6 separate regions of the Homo sapiens genome follow, and regions 1, 2, 3, 5 and 6 are each linked to region 4. Evidence: promoter capture Hi-C in human tissues and cell types (Jung and others, 2019). All regions are on one chromosome and are shown on one strand. The core of a region is centred on a gene start or on the middle of the fragment in contact, and the rest is flanking DNA. Distances in the headings are between cores, read along the strand shown.

Evidence for each region. The method cuts DNA at HindIII sites, captures the fragments that hold promoters and counts their contacts. A contact is called where the count stands out against the background at its distance.
Region 1: a fragment that was not itself captured here is called in contact with the fragment with the promoter of PTPRG in region 4 in 1 of the 25 tissues and cell types used here (aorta).
Region 2: a fragment that was not itself captured here is called in contact with the fragment with the promoter of PTPRG in region 4 in 1 of the 25 tissues and cell types used here (adrenal gland).
Region 3: a contact is called between a fragment that was not itself captured here and the fragment with the promoter of PTPRG in region 4, in 4 of the 25 tissues and cell types used here (IMR-90 fibroblasts, aorta, dorsolateral prefrontal cortex and 1 more).
Region 5: a fragment that was not itself captured here is called in contact with the fragment with the promoter of PTPRG in region 4 in 1 of the 25 tissues and cell types used here (H1 embryonic stem cells).
Region 6: a fragment that was not itself captured here is called in contact with the fragment with the promoter of PTPRG in region 4 in 1 of the 25 tissues and cell types used here (IMR-90 fibroblasts).

Annotation. Positions count from the first base shown.
Region 1 is chr3:61,723,313-61,726,012 of GRCh38, reverse strand. The region is part of intron 1 of PTPRG (protein tyrosine phosphatase receptor type G); the gene reads right to left. Among named protein-coding and RNA genes, the nearest start is that of PTPRG, 160 kb to the right of the region's middle. The HindIII fragment of the contact is 4,384 bases long and covers 1-2,700 here.
Region 2 is chr3:61,427,896-61,430,848 of GRCh38, reverse strand. LOC105377114 (a long non-coding RNA gene) reads left to right here and starts at 2,134. Exons shown (of 7, transcript XR_940892.3): 1 at 2,134-2,335. The HindIII fragment of the contact is 4,121 bases long and covers 1-2,953 here.
Region 3 is chr3:61,766,402-61,769,158 of GRCh38, reverse strand. All of the region lies in intron 2 of PTPRG (protein tyrosine phosphatase receptor type G), which reads right to left. Among named protein-coding and RNA genes, the nearest start is that of PTPRG, 210 kb to the right of the region's middle. The HindIII fragment of the contact is 5,933 bases long and covers 1-2,757 here.
Region 4 is chr3:61,559,850-61,562,892 of GRCh38, reverse strand. It overlaps PTPRG (protein tyrosine phosphatase receptor type G), which reads right to left and starts at 1,322. Exons shown (of 30, transcript NM_002841.4): 1 at 521-1,322. The coding sequence starts at 605. RefSeq lists an enhancer at 2,545-3,043. The HindIII fragment of the contact is 9,021 bases long and covers 1-3,043 here.
Region 5 is chr3:61,700,766-61,703,849 of GRCh38, reverse strand. The region is part of intron 1 of PTPRG (protein tyrosine phosphatase receptor type G); the gene reads right to left. Among named protein-coding and RNA genes, the nearest start is that of PTPRG, 140 kb to the right of the region's middle. RefSeq lists an enhancer at 1,791-2,685. The HindIII fragment of the contact is 6,733 bases long and covers 1-3,084 here.
Region 6 is chr3:61,783,663-61,786,362 of GRCh38, reverse strand. All of the region lies in intron 2 of PTPRG (protein tyrosine phosphatase receptor type G), which reads right to left. Among named protein-coding and RNA genes, the nearest start is that of PTPRG, 220 kb to the right of the region's middle. The HindIII fragment of the contact is 5,540 bases long and covers 1-2,700 here.

The sequences.
Region 1 (2,700 bases), core at 2-2,501, 160 kb before region 4:
AGTGCCTTATTTGATACCAGTGAGGCAAAAACCCAGCTTTGTTGATACCACATACCTATCATACCCAAGTCAGATAGGACCGAAGGATCAGAGAACTCTCCTGCTGGGCCAGGCCTTGTTCTCTCGATCTGACTTAAAATTGGAATCCAGAAAGGAATAAAACAGATGATAAGACATTACCAAACCGTTAGAACTGGCCCTCAGGATTAAATGTGCCACATGAAAGGGAAGATTTCTCAGGGAGTGCTGTGGTCATTTGCAATGAACACAGTAGCCATTCCAAGCCAAAAAAAAAAAAAAAAGGTGGGGGTAGTGGTGGAGGTAGGCAGGGAATCAAATCTTCAAAAAGAGAAGAATAGAGTGGGTAGAATCACTCTATCCAAATTCAAGACTTGTTCTATATCTAAAGTTATCAAGACTATGTGGTATAGGCTGAGATTCAGGCATAAAGATCAATGGAACAGAATAGAGAACCCAGAAGGAGACCCACAGAGTACGGCCAACTGATTTTTGACAAAGGTGCAAAGGCAGTTCAATGGAGGAAGGATAGTCTTTTCAACAAATGGTGCTGGAGCAATTGGACATCCACAGGCAAAAAATTTAAAAAATAAAATACAAAGTGTATCTCACACTTTGGGAGGCTGAGGTAGGTAGATCGCTTGAGGTCAGGAGCTCCAGATCAGCCTGGCCAACATGGTGAAAATCCTGTCTCTACTAAAAATACAAAAATTAGCCAGAAATCACTTGAACTCAGGAGGTGGAGGTTGCAGTGAGCCCAGATCACGCCACTGTACTCCAGCCTGGGTGACAGAGCAAGATTCTGTCCCAAAAAAAAGCGTATCTCAACGTAAATCTCACAACTTACACAAAAATTAACTCAAAATGGATTGTACATTTAAATGTAAAGTATGAAACTCGTAAGTGGTAAAAAAGGAGAAGAGAAAATCTTCTGTACCTGGTGCTTGGTGAAGAGTTTTCAGATATGACAACCAAAGCATCGGCCAGAGAGAAGAAATCAATCAATTCGATTTCATTCAAAGTAAGAATGTTTGTGCTATAAAGAGCCTTGGTGAGAGGACGTGGGAACAGGCTCTATACTGATAAAAAATATTTGCAAACCACATATCTGATGGGGTTTGCAAATATCTACTATCTAGAGTGTGTGTAGAACTCTCAAAACTCAACAGTAAAAAGAAATCCAATAAGAAAGTGGGCAAAAGACACAAAGACAGGACAGCAAATGAGCACATGAAAGGATATTCGGTATCATTAGCCACCAGGAAAATGAAAATTGGGACCACACTGAGATATAACTGCATACCTATCAGAATCGCTAAAATAAAAAAATAGTGGTAATACCAAAAGCTGCTGGGGTGGATGCAAAAAAACTGGATCTCTTATGCATTGCTGGTGGGAGTGTAGAGTGGGAAAGGTACTCTGGAAGAGCCTGGCAGTAAAAAAAACTTAAATATACATTTACCATACACCCCAGCAACTGTATTCTGGGGTGACTATCCCAGGGAAGTGAAAACTTATGATCATCCAAAAACGTGTACGCACTGTTAATATTTGACTTTGTAGCAGCTAGGAAGTGAAAACAACCAAAATCTCCCTCAAAAGGTGAAAGATTAAACCAACTGTGGTGCATCCATGCCACAGAATACTACTTTACAATAAGGCCAAGCAAACTATTGGTGCACACAATGACTTGGATGGAGATCAGGGGCACTATGAAAGTCACACACTATATACATATTATATGATTCTATGTATATAACTACTTTTTTTTTTTTTTGGAGATGGGAGTCTCACTCTGTCACCCAGGCTGGAGTACAGTGGCATGATCTCAGCTCACTGCAACCTCCCCCTCCAGTGCCTCAGCCTCCCAAGTAGCTGGGGTTACAGACGCCAACTGCCACACCCAGGCTAATTTTCGTATTTTTAGTAGAGACAAGGTTTCACCATATTGGTCAGACTGGTCTCAAACTCTTGACCTCAAGTGATCCACCCGCCTCAGCCTCCCAAAGTGCTGGGATTATAGGCATGAGCCACAGGGCCCAGCCCAATATTCTCAAAATGACGAAATGAGAGAGATGTAAGACAGATTAGTGGATGCCACCATTTGGAGATAGTAGAGGAAAGGATGTTTGCAATTATAAAGGGGTAGAATGAGGGAAATCTTTGTGACATGGGAATCATCCAGTATCTGGACTTCAGCAGTGGTTACACCATATATGAGATAAAATGTCCACGACCTACAAACATATATTGTGCCAATATCAAACTCCTGGTTTTGATATTGTACTGTAATCCTGTAAGATGGAACCACTAGAGAAAACAAAAAAAGGGGGTATATGGGACCGCTCTGTACTATCTTGGCACCTTCCTGTGAATCTACAATTATTTCAAAATTAAAAGTTAATGGTATTTTTAATAATATATATCTCTTCTAAAGATAATCTAACAGTAGCCATCATTTTTACTTTCTATCCAACCCTTTTTGATAGAAACAAGGACCTCGTAACATGAGAAAATATATATTTAAAGACAATGAAACCATGGGGGTTTCCCTTTTCTTGTTTCACCAAAAATGTGCACATGTATCCTATTTATAATGGTAATACCAAGGGGGAGGGATGGAGGAAGATGAGGGCAGATAAAACTTAGCAACTTCTTAGAAAGATATCTCAACAGATCATC
Region 2 (2,953 bases), core at 224-2,723, 130 kb after region 4:
CAAAGTCACATAAGTTTACTTAGATGCTCATGCAGAGAGGTTATCATCAAAGATGGGCACTAGAGTAGACAAGTCATGTAACCTAGGATCTGAAGTTACCACTGCTGCGCTATGTTATGTAAGATGAGTAGGCAGAGGAAGGCAGGTGAGAGAAAGATGAAGGACCTGACTCTGAGATGCATAAATGAGAAAAGCCACATAGAGAAATCTTGGTTATTCTGCTCAGAGAAATCTTGGTTATTCTGCTCGCCATGCTCTGGTTTGCATAATGTCCAACTAAATTTCATTTCTACTTTTTGGTGTCTGTGAGGTTGCTGTAGCATTACAACTAACTCTCACCTTCCATTTTCATTTGAGTTACTTTGAGTAGGGTGTGCTGCTGATAATCAAAAGAGCCTTCAGTGTGAGCCAAGAGCTTACGCCTGTAATCCCAGCACTTTGGGAGGTGTAGGTGGGCGGATTCCTTGAGGCCAGGAGTTTGCGACCAGCCTGGCCGACAGGGCGAAACCCCGTCTCTACCAAAAGTACAAAAATTAGCTGGGCGTGGTGTCGCGTGCCTGTAGTTCCAGCTACTCTGGTGGATGAGGCACGAGAATTGCTTGAACCGGGAGGCTCAGGTTGCAGTGAGCTGAGATGGTGCCACTACACTCTAGCATGTGCAACAGTGCAAAACTGTGTGTGTGTGTGTGTGTGTTTTTTTTAAAGAGCTTTGAGAGAACCGTTATAATGCTAGTTCATAAGTCTTTCCAACCTGTCCTTATTTATCACTTTTTTTCTTTCTGACTGTGGACCTACAGATAGCATTTAATTTTCCATCTTAGTAAAGGTGAGTGGTGAAATGTGTAAGCCAAATCACCAGACCACTTACTTCTCTTCTCAAATTTCATACTCCATATGATTTAAAAATAATTAGTAATGTAACCCGAATACTTGTCTATTATTAATTCGACCAACTTGTGAACTGCCCACACATTCCAGGCACTGTACATACTGCTGGGAAAAAGTGGCAAATAAGAGGAGGTCCCCAGCGAGCCCCCAGTGAGCTTACATTCCCATAGGTGGTAGCTTGAGTCACAGTAAGTTACATAAAAGGATTAAAAATGTTGTGGATAGTTCACAAAATGGATACAAGAGATGATATTATTGTACTTTATCAGGCACATGATGATGTTATTTCTCTTGTGAATGATGCTGTGATGAAAATGGCTGCCTGGAGCCGATTGTTTCCCCAGGGTCTGAAGAGTAAATTACGGTAAAAATGAGCAAAAGTAATTCACCTACAACAAGCAGAGAGACTTAATTGAAGGCAATAAACTCCCAGAATGGTGGCCCCAGGGGAAAAAAAGAAAATCCAAAAGCAAAAAAATCTCTCCAAGTTTCTAAATTAATTGCAAAGATCCAGGGCGAGGGTTACCCCTAACTCTGACTCCACAGAAACTGACTGGAGAGTCCACAGAACCCCGAGATTTTTTCACAGACACCCCAACCTGGAGACGCAGGCATACCAAGAGGTCTCATTGTCTTTGTTCTCCTTACCAAAGCGCATTTGAAATGGTGCTGGGAAAGCGGTGAACTGGAAGTAATGGATCCCGCTGCCTCTCTGAGGAAGAGAAAAATCCCATGACCGGATTTGAGGAAACAAACGGAAGTCTAAGTGCACCCACTTCCGGAGTGGGCACCGCTCCTCAGGTAATTTAACCACGGCTCAGGGAGTCTAATGACAGCCCTGCATGGCTTCCGCTAGCCTCTGTGGGAAAACGGAGGTTTGGACAGTCTTCCCCTGGCACATTTGGGCCATAGCCTTGAAGGGAAAGATTTGAAAGCTATAAGGTGGGAGAAAACATAAAATAAAAACAAACCTCACACCAACTCTAGGACTATGGAAAAATGGCAGAGTTTCCACCAAGAGAAACATGAATACCAAGTGAGAACGTGAGCAGAAGCTTACCTGTCAATGCCAACTGTGTGCCCATCCCTCCTGGGCCACCTCATTACAGATCAGGTTATGCCATGCCTCTGTCTTGGGAGAAAATGGTAAGAGCAGTAGGCTAGCAGTCAGCCGAACTAACTGTCCTCCCAGCTAGCTGACCTCGTTTGTGAAATAGGGCACACGAATGCAATCATGATCCTAAGCTCCCTTAAGCTCTAAAAAAATAATATAGTGTAGTGATTCTGTCTAAAAAACGCTGACAAAGAATGCATCTACTTCCTAGTAAATTCTACAGCTGGAAGGAAGTTTCTAGAGGCACCTCAGCACTGACTTCAGTACCCATCACTCCACAACTCAAGGATGGAAACCTTGAACGTCTGAATTTGCTGAACTGCTTGAGATGAGGTGAGAGAAAAGGACTTTTTTTTTTTTTTGACACGGAGTCTTGCTCTGTGGCTCAGGCTGGAGTGCAGTGGCCCGATCTTAGCTCACTGCAACCTATGCCTCCCGGGTTCAAGCGATTCTCCTGCCTCAGCCCCGCAAGGACCTGGGATTACAGGCACCCACCCACCAGGCCCAGCTAATTTTTGTATTTTTAGTAGAGATGGTGTTTCACCATGTTGGCCAGGCTGGTTTCGAACTCCTGACCTCAAGTGATCCACCCACCTCAGCCTCCCAAAGTGCTGAGATTACAGGTGTGAGCCACCGTGCCCGGCCGCAAAGGGCTTTTAATAAATGATGCTCCTTAGTCTTTGGTATGTTACTCAAATAACCACCAGTGAATGGAATTACAATCTTTGGGCAGTTTAGCAAGATTCTTTATAGCAAGCTTGGCTCCTACCAGCGGACTATTACTCTAAAAACACTCTGGGAGCAATTACACACTCAGTAACCCCTCATTAAGTAGCAATTTTACCTAACCTTACCCGTTTCCTTTTGAGTGTGAGAGTGAAGGGAGAAATGAATTAAAGCACATCAAGAAGCTCTGTATGCTCTTGGCTTGGACGGTATGGTGAGCAGCAG
Region 3 (2,757 bases), core at 248-2,747, 210 kb before region 4:
GTCCATAAATTCAAATGTCATTGTTTCTAGTAAATATTTTCATATGGTGACTTAAATACATATTGTCATCACATTAAACTAAATGGCATTTTATCCCCCAAGGAACTCTTTCATACACAAATGCTCCATTTCCAAGAAATAAAGAAGAAAGGAAAATACTTCTAATGTAAATTGGCATAGTTTTTCCTTTTACTACTTCATAGGAGGTGTGTGAATCATGTGGAACTCATCTTTCAGACTGAAATTTCCCTGTGACCACACCTCACAACAGCAGCACAGCCCTCATAAAGCTGTGGGGAAATCATTATGATAGTAGACACTGAGCCAACTCAGGAGAATCAACCTTTCTCCTCCCCCATACCCCTCTTCCCTGGGCAAACACACCCTCCCCCACACAACTATTTTCCTCTTTCCCTCACTTTCTAATCGGACGTCTAAGTGCACAGTGAAGGACAAGTTTCCAATTCTATTAAGAGTGGACTATTAAAGGATCTGAGAAGTCTTGCAGCAAAGAAACCTGTATGACAATCTTTACTTTGGCCTTTCCCAATCTTCCATGGTCACAGAACCCTCCTGCCATAAAAAGCCTGTGAACAGCCTCCTCAACTAATGTTCCAGACACAGATTTTGAGAAAATGCTCTCCGAGCAACAACCCATACTTAGCTACTTGCCGGGGACTTCCTACACAGACTCAGTACTGAGGCTGGCAAAGAGAGACTCCAACAATTCTGTACTGATGACATTCTTTTTGTGCAGAGAAACTCTACTCCCAGAGGCTAACACAGAGAAACCAGGAAAATTATTTAAATCTCTAGGTAGCTAACAGTTAAATGGCTATAAAAGTCTCCCAATGTCTGAAATTAATTCCTGTAGTAAATATCCCTACCAAAAAAAAGACATACATCATACCTGTGAGTTACAGAGATATAAGTTCACGATTAGTTGTGATAAATGGTGGGTCTAGTGGCTTTTTGATGAATAACTCTCTGTCTTGATCAAATTCAAAGACCATAAACATGGATTCTAGTAACTGCATTTATGACTAGTATTTTACAGACAAAAATCTAAAATCAATTAATATATCTCTAATTATTATATTTCCTATCCTCCCAATGCATAAATCTATTCTGTTCCGTAGTGAGAGATCAAAATTAAATACCAAGATTTTTTTTTTTTTTTTTTTTTTGAGACAGGGTCTTGCTTTCTGTCACCCAGGCTGGAGTGCACTGGTGCAATCACAGCTCACTGTAGCCTCAACCTCCCAGGCTCAAGCAATCCTCCTATGTAAGCCTCCACAGTAGTTGGAACTACAGGCGTGTGCCACCATATCCAGCTATTTTTTTTTTCCTTTGGTACAAACGGGATCCCACTATGTTGCTTAGGCTGGTCTTGAACTCCTGGGCTCAAGCGATCCTCCCACCTCGGCTTCCCAAAGTGCTGAGATTATAGGCATGAGCCATTATGCCCAGCCAAATATAAAACATTCATCTTAACTTGCATTTAAAGCATTCTATAGTCCACCAAAGTGTCTTGGAACACTGAAAATGTATATATTTTCTACCTTTTATATTCTAGCTTTCCCTAATTTATTAAAACAACTTAAGACATCTAAATGCCAACCAATTAATATGAAAGAATATTTTAAACACATTTAATATCCTGTAAAACATATTCTGCCAAGGGCAGCGCTCAGCTGAGGTTACCAGTGGACAAATTATTTAAATGAGCATGTATGCATTTTGGATTTGTCTACATGGGGAAAATTAGAAAAAACTATTTACTACAAGGAAATCATCATGTACTAGAATAAGCAAAAACAAAATGAGAGTAAAAGAAAATGGTATGCCTTTTTTAACATAAAAAATTAGTTAAAAAAATGGAGTTTGATAATTCTACTTTCTTTTTTTTTTTTTTTTTGAGATGGAATCTTGCTGTCACAAGGCTAGAGTGCAGTGGTGCAATCTCGGCTCACTGCAACCTCTGTCTCTCAGGTTCAAGGAATTCTCCTGCCTCAGCCTCTCAAGTAGCTGGGACTACAGGCGTGCACCACCACGCCCAGCTAATTGTTGTATTTTTAGTAGAGATGGGGTTTCACCATGTTGGCCGGGATGGTCTCGAACTCCTGACCTCAAGTCATCTGCCTGCCTCGGCCTCCCAAAGTGCTGGTATTACAGGCCTGAGCCAGTGCTCCTGTCCTAATTCTACTTTCTAAGTAACATGTTTAATAATCAATGGCTGGGCTGGGCGCGATGGCTCATGCCTGTAATCCCAGCACTTTGGGAGGCCAAGGTGTGCAGATCATTTGAGATCAGGAGTTTGAGACCAGCCTGGCCAACATGGTGAAAAACCATCTCTACTAAAAATACAATAAACATTAGCTGGGTATGGTGGCAAATGCCTGCAATCCCAGCTACTAGGGAGGCTGAGACAGGAGAATTGCTTAAACTCAGGAGATGGAGGTTGCAGTGACCAGAGATTATGACACCACACTCCAATCTGGGCAACAGGGTGAGACTGTCTTAAACGAAAAAAAAAAAAAATTTTTTTTAACATTAATAATGGTGTTAAATAATACATGTGTGATACGAACAAAGTTTCCTTTCTATAATGCAGTCTACTAAAGAGAGCTGAAATTCCAGATCTACTCCTTTAATATATAGATAGAAATCTGGAAAATGTGATTATCAATTAGAGATGTTAGAATCAAAATCTAAGAAAGAAAACTTAACAAGAAAAAATTATCTCCAAAAATAAAG
Region 4 (3,043 bases), core at 73-2,572:
AGCCAGCCTCCGACTTCCATTCCCCGAAACCTAGCCCTCCCAAAGGGATGGAGAACAGCAAAGCAAACCCCCACCTTCTGAGTTCCTTCAATACCCGCCAGAGCGAGGGGGCTCATCCCGGGCCCCCCAAACCCACAGAAGCATCCTTTCCATGGCCTCAGTCTCCCCAACCGCCCCACAACTCGAGTTCTCCCGATCGGCGACGAGTCAGCAAAGCAAGTCCCCCTTTCTCCCGATTCCAGCTCCCCAGGACCCCCAAAAGGGAGCGGGAGCAGACCCCCGCGTCCCCCAGCCCCCTCCCCGGCCAGCCCCTGCCTCCACCTTCCTCGACCACTAGCCTGCCTCCCTAAACATCATCCAAGCCAGCGGAGCAATCCTTTTCTCCTATCCGGGCGCCGGGCCACCCTCCACCCTCTCCAGGGTCTCCCGGACGGGCGCCGGAGCTCCGCGCCCAGGCGACAACTCCGCATCCCCAACGCGCGCCGGCCGGGGCCGCATCCCCTCGGCGGCCGGCACTCACCGGGGAAGCACACGACATAATGGAGCACGGAACTGGTGATTTTCAGGAACAAAATCCACCAACACGGTTCCAGTAACCTCCGCATGTCCGAAAACGCACATCGAAAAGAGGAAAGCAGGGAGGTAAACTTGTTGAATAAGTTCTTGCCTCCGTGCGAGCCTCCGCTAAGCCGGGGCGCTTCCCCGGCTCGCCCGCTCCACGGGCCCCCCGCGCTCGGCGGCCCGAGTCCCCTTGGAATCCGGGAAGCCGCCGAGCGCCCCCCGGAAAATCTCAAAAAGTGACCGGGAACGCAGAGCCACGCTGGGGACGATCCTCTCGGCGGAGAAAGGCTGCTTTCCGTTTAAAAAGGAGAGAGCCGATCGGGCAGGGCGCGGAGTCGGCGGCCGGCGGCGATGCCCCGGGCCTGGGGCAGGCAGGGACCGCGGGCGGCGGCGGCGAGCAGCCGAGGATCCCCAACTTGAGTCGGCAGCGCAGCACAGCCCGAGAGCCGGCGGGCGGCGGCGGGGCTGAGCGCGGCGCGGCGTCTCCGGGCTTCAGGCAGGCAGCTCCTTCCAGGGCCCCGGGAAGGAAGGAGGCATGTTTGCGAGAGGGGAAGGGGAGGGGAGAGGCAGGGGGAGCGGAGAGCCCCCCAAAATAGAAACGGCCGGAGGAAACGGAGGAAAACACAAAGGATCTCAGAGGGGCGCTGGGGCGAGGGCGCCTTCAGTCCATGCTCCTGAAAGTTGTGGCTCCGGCGCAGGCTGGGAAGGAACGAAGAGCGCGGGGCTGGAAACTGGCCATGCCTCCATACAGGAAGTAACATGTGAGCATGGATCCTGGCAGAGACTTTAAAGCCGGCGAGCGAAGGAGCGAGCGAACAGGGGGCGCGCGGTGGCGGCGGGGGCGCGCAGCCCGGGCCAGCTGGCGGCGGGCGCGCGCTCTCCGCGTTCTTAAAGCAGCCGCGCTTGGCTCCCGCCTTGCGCTGGGTCCCTCGGCTCTGCTCTCTCCGCGCGGCCTCTACTGGGACAGTTTGGGGACTGGGGGCGATTGTAGCCCGTGCGCGGAGAGAGGAGGGAGGCTGCCTTCTGGGGCCGGCTTGTTTTTTGCTGGATTCCCGTTGTTCGAGCTCTTAAAAGACGCCGCACGGTGCTCGGGTTTGGCGAGATCCTCCGCGCAGCTCGCGGATCCCGGACTTGAGGGGCCCCTCGCCCTGGCGAGGGGAAAGGGGGAGGGCGGACAGCTGCCTTTTTAAAGCGATGGGGTTTTCTGTTCGGCTTCACTGCCCTGGCATTTGCAGCGGTGAGGCTCACCGTCTGCGGCTCCTGTTCGCGCCTCCAACACAGCGCATTCCCCCGCCGGGAAACAAAGCCGAGCGGCCTTTGCACTCCGGCTACATTGAGATTTAATTTTTTTTTTTTTTCTTTTTCGGGCTTTCATTGGCCCAGTCCAAGGCTGGGGAAAGTGGGGGAGGGGAGGAATGTCGATCCCAGGATTGCGAAATCTAGCCCTTCCGAGCCCCGCATCCCCTTTCCCGGCGCCACGATGGATCGGTGGCGGAGTTTCCCCAACTCGCAGCTTCTCTGGAGAAGGTTCCCGCACCCCGGTTTGGCCGCGGGGAGGGCGCAGGAAGTGCGCCTCTTACACCCTGCAGGGTGAAAGCAGCGCCGCGGGGCCGGACTGATTTCCTGGCAGCTACCCGGGGAGCGGCTGCTTCTTTAGCAATCGGGGAGAGGCGTCCGGGGGAAATGGGAGGACTAGGCTTATCTGTAATGAGTTTTGTCCCTTGGCTCTCGGTAAGAAGATCTTTATCGCTTAGACTTCTAAGCGCCCTATTTTACATTCTTAACGCTGGGGCTAAAAGTGGGGGAGGCGGGCTTTCGAGTAAATGTGTAACTGAGCCAAGGTAATTAGCCGTTTGACATTTTTTGCCTAATTTTTCTGCCTGTGTTTCAAAGCGATCTTGACGTGGGATTGTTTTGTTTTGTTTTGAGACGGAGTCTCGCTCCGTCGCCCAGGCTGGAGTACAGTGGCTCGATTTCGGCTCACTACAACCTTCGCCTCCCGGGTTCGGGCGATTCTCCTGCCTCAGCCTCCCGAGTAGCTGGGACTACAGGCGCCCGCCACCACGCCCGGCTGATTATTTTTTTGGTGGTTTTTTTTGTTTGTTTTTTGTTTTATTTTGGTTTTTTTTGTAGAGGCGGGGTTTCACCGTTTTGGCAAGGCTGGTCTCGAACTCCTGACCTTGTGATCCGCCTGCCTCAGCCTCCCAAAGTGCTGAGATTACAGGCGTGAGCCACCGCGCATGGTTCTTGTGTTTTAAACGTGTCCCTGCTGTTTCATCCCAACACGGCAGGGTCCTCCACCCACCCAAACATCCCAACCGGATGCTAGGTTTTCAAATAAAGTACAGATGGTCGGAGATCCTCCCGTTCGATGTGATTAAGGAAGCATTTTCACACCCACACTTCCAAAAGAAAAACCTTTGAAAAGTTACGTATGGGATTACAAACTAATAAAAGCCAGGAAGTTCCTGGGGAGGGCCCT
Region 5 (3,084 bases), core at 246-2,745, 140 kb before region 4:
ATAATAAAAGACTTCTCCAAAATGCAGAGAGCTGAACTTTCATTAATAATAGAATTGGGAATTTCCTTTATAATTAAGAAATCACGAGCTAACAGGTATCAACAAGCCCATATGAAATGGGTTTGAAATTTACACAGATTTGTGTTTGTTTTTCAAAGGAGAGGGTCATCCATCAGATTACCAAGAAAAGGTGAAGTTTCACTGATACAATCCTATGCCCCCCACTTTACAAATGAGCGAGGCAGGAGAAACTAAGTGGCCTTCCCAAGGCCATACAGCCAGTTAGCACCAAGGGAGCATGAAAAGATACAGCATCAACTCCCCCAGCCCTGTGGAATGCCTTAGAAATACCATTTTTGGTTTCCAAATCTGGATCACTCCACCATTAATGCCCATACTACGAAATAAAGCCAAAAGAGAAAAAATGTCAGCCTAGTTGACACAGCTACTCTCTCAAAACCAATCTTATGAAATTTGACATTACTGTAACTGATTTCTTTACAACCCTTTCGGCTAAATCAATACTGATAAGATGCATTCTTCTGATGTCCTTTATCTATTTTCCAGAAAGGCATCAGTCGGAAAATGATAGGCAGTTTAATGGTGTGGCACCTATATAAGTGGGGCAAACACAAGCTGCTAAGAACCATCTTAAAGTGCCAGTCCACTGAACTTTCATACAGGGGGAAAAAAAAAAAAAAGATTCAACTTCCTTACCTGGGGAGAAATACAGGCTTTAAAATTACAGGCAGCAGCAGAGGGTAGTGGTAACGAGCCAAGGCTCTGCCTATAGAGAATCAAGGTTCAAATGCAAATTCTGCACCCACCGTATGAATTACATTTAACCTTATCCCTTATGGTAGGCACCAGAGGGAACTGCATACAAATGTGCACCAACAGGCATTTACAAGATTGCTCTTTACAGCTTTACTCATGAAAGCCTAAAACTAGAAAGAACTCAAAAGGTCTAACAAGAAGAAAACTGGCAAACTGTTGTATAGTTGTATAATCAATAACTAAAGAGTAAGTACCGCACAACATCACGTGTGAATTTCATAGACATTATGTTGAGCAAAAGCAGACAGACCCAAAAGAGTTCCCTAAGTTATGTGGGCAAATCTATCTGTATGGTGAGTGGAAATACAATAGTGGTTACCTGGTGGGGGGTTGGGAAAAATGACAGATGTGCCTGGAATGCTAGAAAGTATTCCATCTTGATCTGCAAGGCAGCCACTCAGGTGAAAGCAGTAACACACCTATAGAAACACACTGAGCCACATACTTCAGATTTGTACAATTTACTGTGCCTGTGTGTGTGTGTACACGTGTGTATAAACGTTTTAACTCAAACTAAATTTTTTTAATTGTTTAATGAAAAGTTTTGTAAAAATGTAACTCTCCCTAAGAGGGACTTACAGTCAGTTACTTTATTTCCTGGGCCTCAAAATCCTCTTCTCTAAAATGAAGAAAGTAACAGTTCCTATTCTCAGCATGTTAGGGTCAATATTTTAAAAGGTAAGGATGGGTAAAGTCTTAGCAGGATGCATCAAAGCACACAGGCTACTATTCATGGCCAGACGCGGTGGCTCACGCCTGTAATCCCAGCACTTTGGGAGGCCGAGGTGGGTAGATCACTTGAGGCCAGCAGTTCAAGAACAGCCTGGCCAACATGGCAAAACCCTGTCTCTCCTAAAAATACAAACATTATCCAGGTGTGGTGGTGCTCGCCTATACTCCTAGCTACCCCAGAGGCTGAGGCAGGAGAATCACTTGAACCCAGAAGGCTGAGGTTGCAGTGAGCCGAGATCGCGCCACTGCACTCCAGCCTGGGCAACAGAGTGAGACCCTGTCTCAAAAAATAAAGAAAAGAAAGCACACAGGCTACTTTTTTCCTTTTTTCTTTCCTTCCTTCCTCCTTCCTCCCTCTCCTTCCTCTTTCTCTTCCCTCTCTCTCTCTTTTTTAGACAGGGCTTGGCTCTGTCACCCAGGCTGAGTACAGTGGCACTCCCTTCAGTCTCGACCTCCTGGGGGCTCAACTGATCCTCCCACCTCAGCTTCCTGAGTAGCTCAGATGACAGTCACGTGACACGACACCTGGATAATTTTTTTATTTTTAGTAGAGGTGAGGTTTCGCCATGTTGCCAGGCTGGTCCTGAACTCTTGGGCTCAAGGGATCCACCCACCTTGGCCTCCCAAACTACTGGGATCACAGGTGTGAGCCACTGTGCCCAGCCTTCAATTATTTCTATCACCATCATTATTATAACAATTGTTAGAAATGTTTCTGCACTCACTTCTTTTCATTATTATACTGTAGAAAAATTAGTCACTAAATATGGGTTTTTTCCTCTTCTGCCTTTATGCAAAAAGTTTTCAAATATTACTATTATAATCATATGAAAGTAGAGATGAAACATAAATAAGAAAATGTGACCCGAGCCTCCTCAAACTCATAGCTACCAGAGATCTGAAAATTAAACAGCACTAGCCCAGCAGCATCCTGTGCCTTGCATCCAACATGATATTGAGGAGTTGTCAGATACCTTGTTAGCAGTGGGTGCAAATGTGAGAAGTATCACACAGCTATTCTGCATGTTCTGACAAGACCATGAGGAAACACAGTCCCCAAAGAATCAGAGAGCTCAGCATGCAACCTAATTAATCACCACAGGAAAAAGCCCATATGGTGTGATGGTGGACTACTCCGTGAAAACACAAGAAGAAATATGCAGCTAGCCTTAAACAGAACAAAGGGGCAAGCAAGGAGGGCAGGGAGATTGAGGGCAACTATTAAAGCTCCCACTGCATAGGTTTCCAGAAAACCAGGAGTCTTTCCCTCCTAGACTGTCTTCACTTCCTTGCTAGTTGCTGGGATTCCTTACATGATAGGGCCTTTTGACCCGGATAGGGGCAAAGCTTACAGGTGTAGCTTTAATGACAGGGATGCACATTTGTTTCTATCAGAGTGGGTAGGATGTTTTACATGTATTTCCTGTGTAGTATAAAAGTAACAGATGTAATAAATGGGAAAGGGATGTATACCCAGAATGAAAATGACAGAGCTGAACATGAGTGTGAAAAAAA
Region 6 (2,700 bases), core at 13-2,512, 220 kb before region 4:
ATGTGCTTCCCATGCCATGAAGTAAGGCCAAGCCACAATCTATGTCCTTTACTCAGATTAAAAGCTAGGAATAATCAAAGAAGAAGAATAAAATGAATTTTTTAGAAGCTAAAGTGTCCATTGGCCAATGCAAATTGCCCTCTTTTAATTTCTGAACAACCACCATAACAGGCACATCTGACACTACCTACTCTACCCTCCAAAGATTATGGGGGAAAATATGTTTGTTTGTCTTTATTTCCATAGTAAATGATGAGAAAAAGGCCAGAGGCACGTATAACTTGGGAAACCTACACATGATGTTCATTTAAGGTGGCTTTTATTTATAAGTCTAATTAGTAGTTGTCGCTTCCTGTTTAGAGAGGGGACTACAGAAAAAGTGTGACTGGGGAGAAGGGATGGTTACTGACAGGCCCAGGGAAGTATAGGAATCCAAGGAAAAGAACAAACAGGAGAGAAGTGGCCCTACTTCCCTAAGCTAAGTGTGTATGTGTCTGTGTATTGGAGGCATGTGTGTAAGGCAGGCTGTTCATTAGTGTATTATCATCATGACCCTACCTATATGTTCAACCCTGCTCAGGTAACTGCTTATGAGTTCTCTATTGTTGTCAATGTGTATCTGTATATAAAGATTTTATACTGTATTTCTAAGAAGATTCTAAGAACATGAGGACCCTCATGCTTTCAATTCGACACAGAATATTTTATATTTCCTATTTTATTTTCTCCTGAACAACATCTGTTTATCAAGTGGGCACTATCATTTGAAGCCAGGTCTACGGCAGCAGAATAGAGCAAGACTGATGCAAAATATAAAGCTAATGTGACACCCCAAAAATCTGCTTTTACCAGAAGCATGCAGCTAATGAAGATCTAAGGATTTGGGAAGGTCTTTAATTAGCCTGAATTATCTAGATAATTACATTGATTTTTGCTAAAGTCAATTCATTCTTAATTGGTGATGCTAATTATATAAATATATCTCTCTTCTACAATGTTCTAGATTTTTCAAACCAAACAGTTTTCGGTTTAATTTTTCTAGATAGGTGCTAAATTGCACGTTTCATTTTACATTTGTATAAACAAATCCCTAGTGTGGACATGACCTTAAAAAGTATGTATATCTCCTGAATTGTCCTCCCCCTAAGAGCATCATTCTAAAAACCAAATACGGCAGAGGTTAATGTGCAGAACCTATACTTAATTCACAAACGTGGCTTGGAAAAATGGTTAGCAGTTGCCTGTTAGAAGCACAGCCACGGAAATTTCTGTAGCATTTCTGCATGTAATTAGCCTCTTTTTTCCCTTAGCTATTTATAAATGCATAAATATACCTGTGCTCTACGTAATGATGACAGACAGTGACAACATATTGATATACAGTGCCACTTCGTACTTGGAAATGAATATTTCATTAGCTGAGTTATCACTGCTGGGTTACGACCTTCAACTCTCTAATTTTAAATTCATCCGTTTTCAGACTATTAAGCTGTTCTTGAGCACACCACAGAAATTACAGACGGAGAGGTAAATTTTCAAGATAATTTTTAATTTCAAAAAAGGTCAAGGATATGCATACTAAATTCTTTAAAAGAATTGTAATTCATAATGAGAGCAAATGGGTCATTTTGGTTGGTAACGATATTTGCTTCTACATGTAAAAATGGAAAGGCAGAAGAAATAGATCATGATCACTTAATGAAATTATCAAGCTCCTAATCTACCAGCGTTATGCATACCCAACTTAAAGAACAACTATGCAGATGATCAGCTAACTAGATCTGGCTTAAGTCTTGTGGAAGCTTAAAGTGAAACACAGATGTCAGCTGCTAACTTACCCTCAACATCCTCAACCACAGTCCGTACTCATTCCAGGAATAAACTCTATGATTCATTTGACTCACTCACACAAACTCTCTCCCCCACCCAATTAGGTTAAAACTATGTCTTTATAGAATCAAAAATATTTACATATTATGGTGTGCATTAAGAAATAAGTATCTGAAAAAAATGAAGGAAGGGAAAATCATTAGTTAAATGACGGCTGCTTCTCGCTCAATCCAACATCACCTAACCCCGTCCCCCAACCCCACTGCCACTCAGCATGTAGCCTTGCCCTTCAGATCAGCTGCTGGGAATAGGATGGCAGGCTCCTGTGAGTGTGGCCCCGCTGACATCACCAATTATTCACCTCCTTCCAAATTCTGCAGCAGTTTCTGGCTCACCCACTGCTCTTAGGTCCACAGTGTAGTTTTCACCATTCCTAGCCTTCTCTATGCAGGTTCCTCTTGGTTTTTCAGCTTCTTTAATATTGGTGTTTCTCAGGGGATATTGCTCTATAATTTTCCTTCAGTCATCTAAGCTAATCCCAAACCTCTGACCCCATCCCATGCTCAGGTTCAAATGCCCAATGGCCAGATGAACTTTTCCAACAGTACATCCAGCTAGCACCTCCAATTAACTCAGTCAATCACTGCACAGATCCCTGTCATGTCTCCACTTTAGAGTCCAAAACTTGGCATGAAGGCTCTCCACGACAAGGCCCCGATATGCAACCCAAGTTCATCTGTCTCCAGTGCCTGCCTTCACATTCCTTCCAGGGCTTAGGACCTCACTGTGGCCCTCCACCCAGCATGAGCTATGCTAGTCCTGGCTTCCACCCCTTGTTCATACTTTCTCTACTGCACCAAACATGCTGCT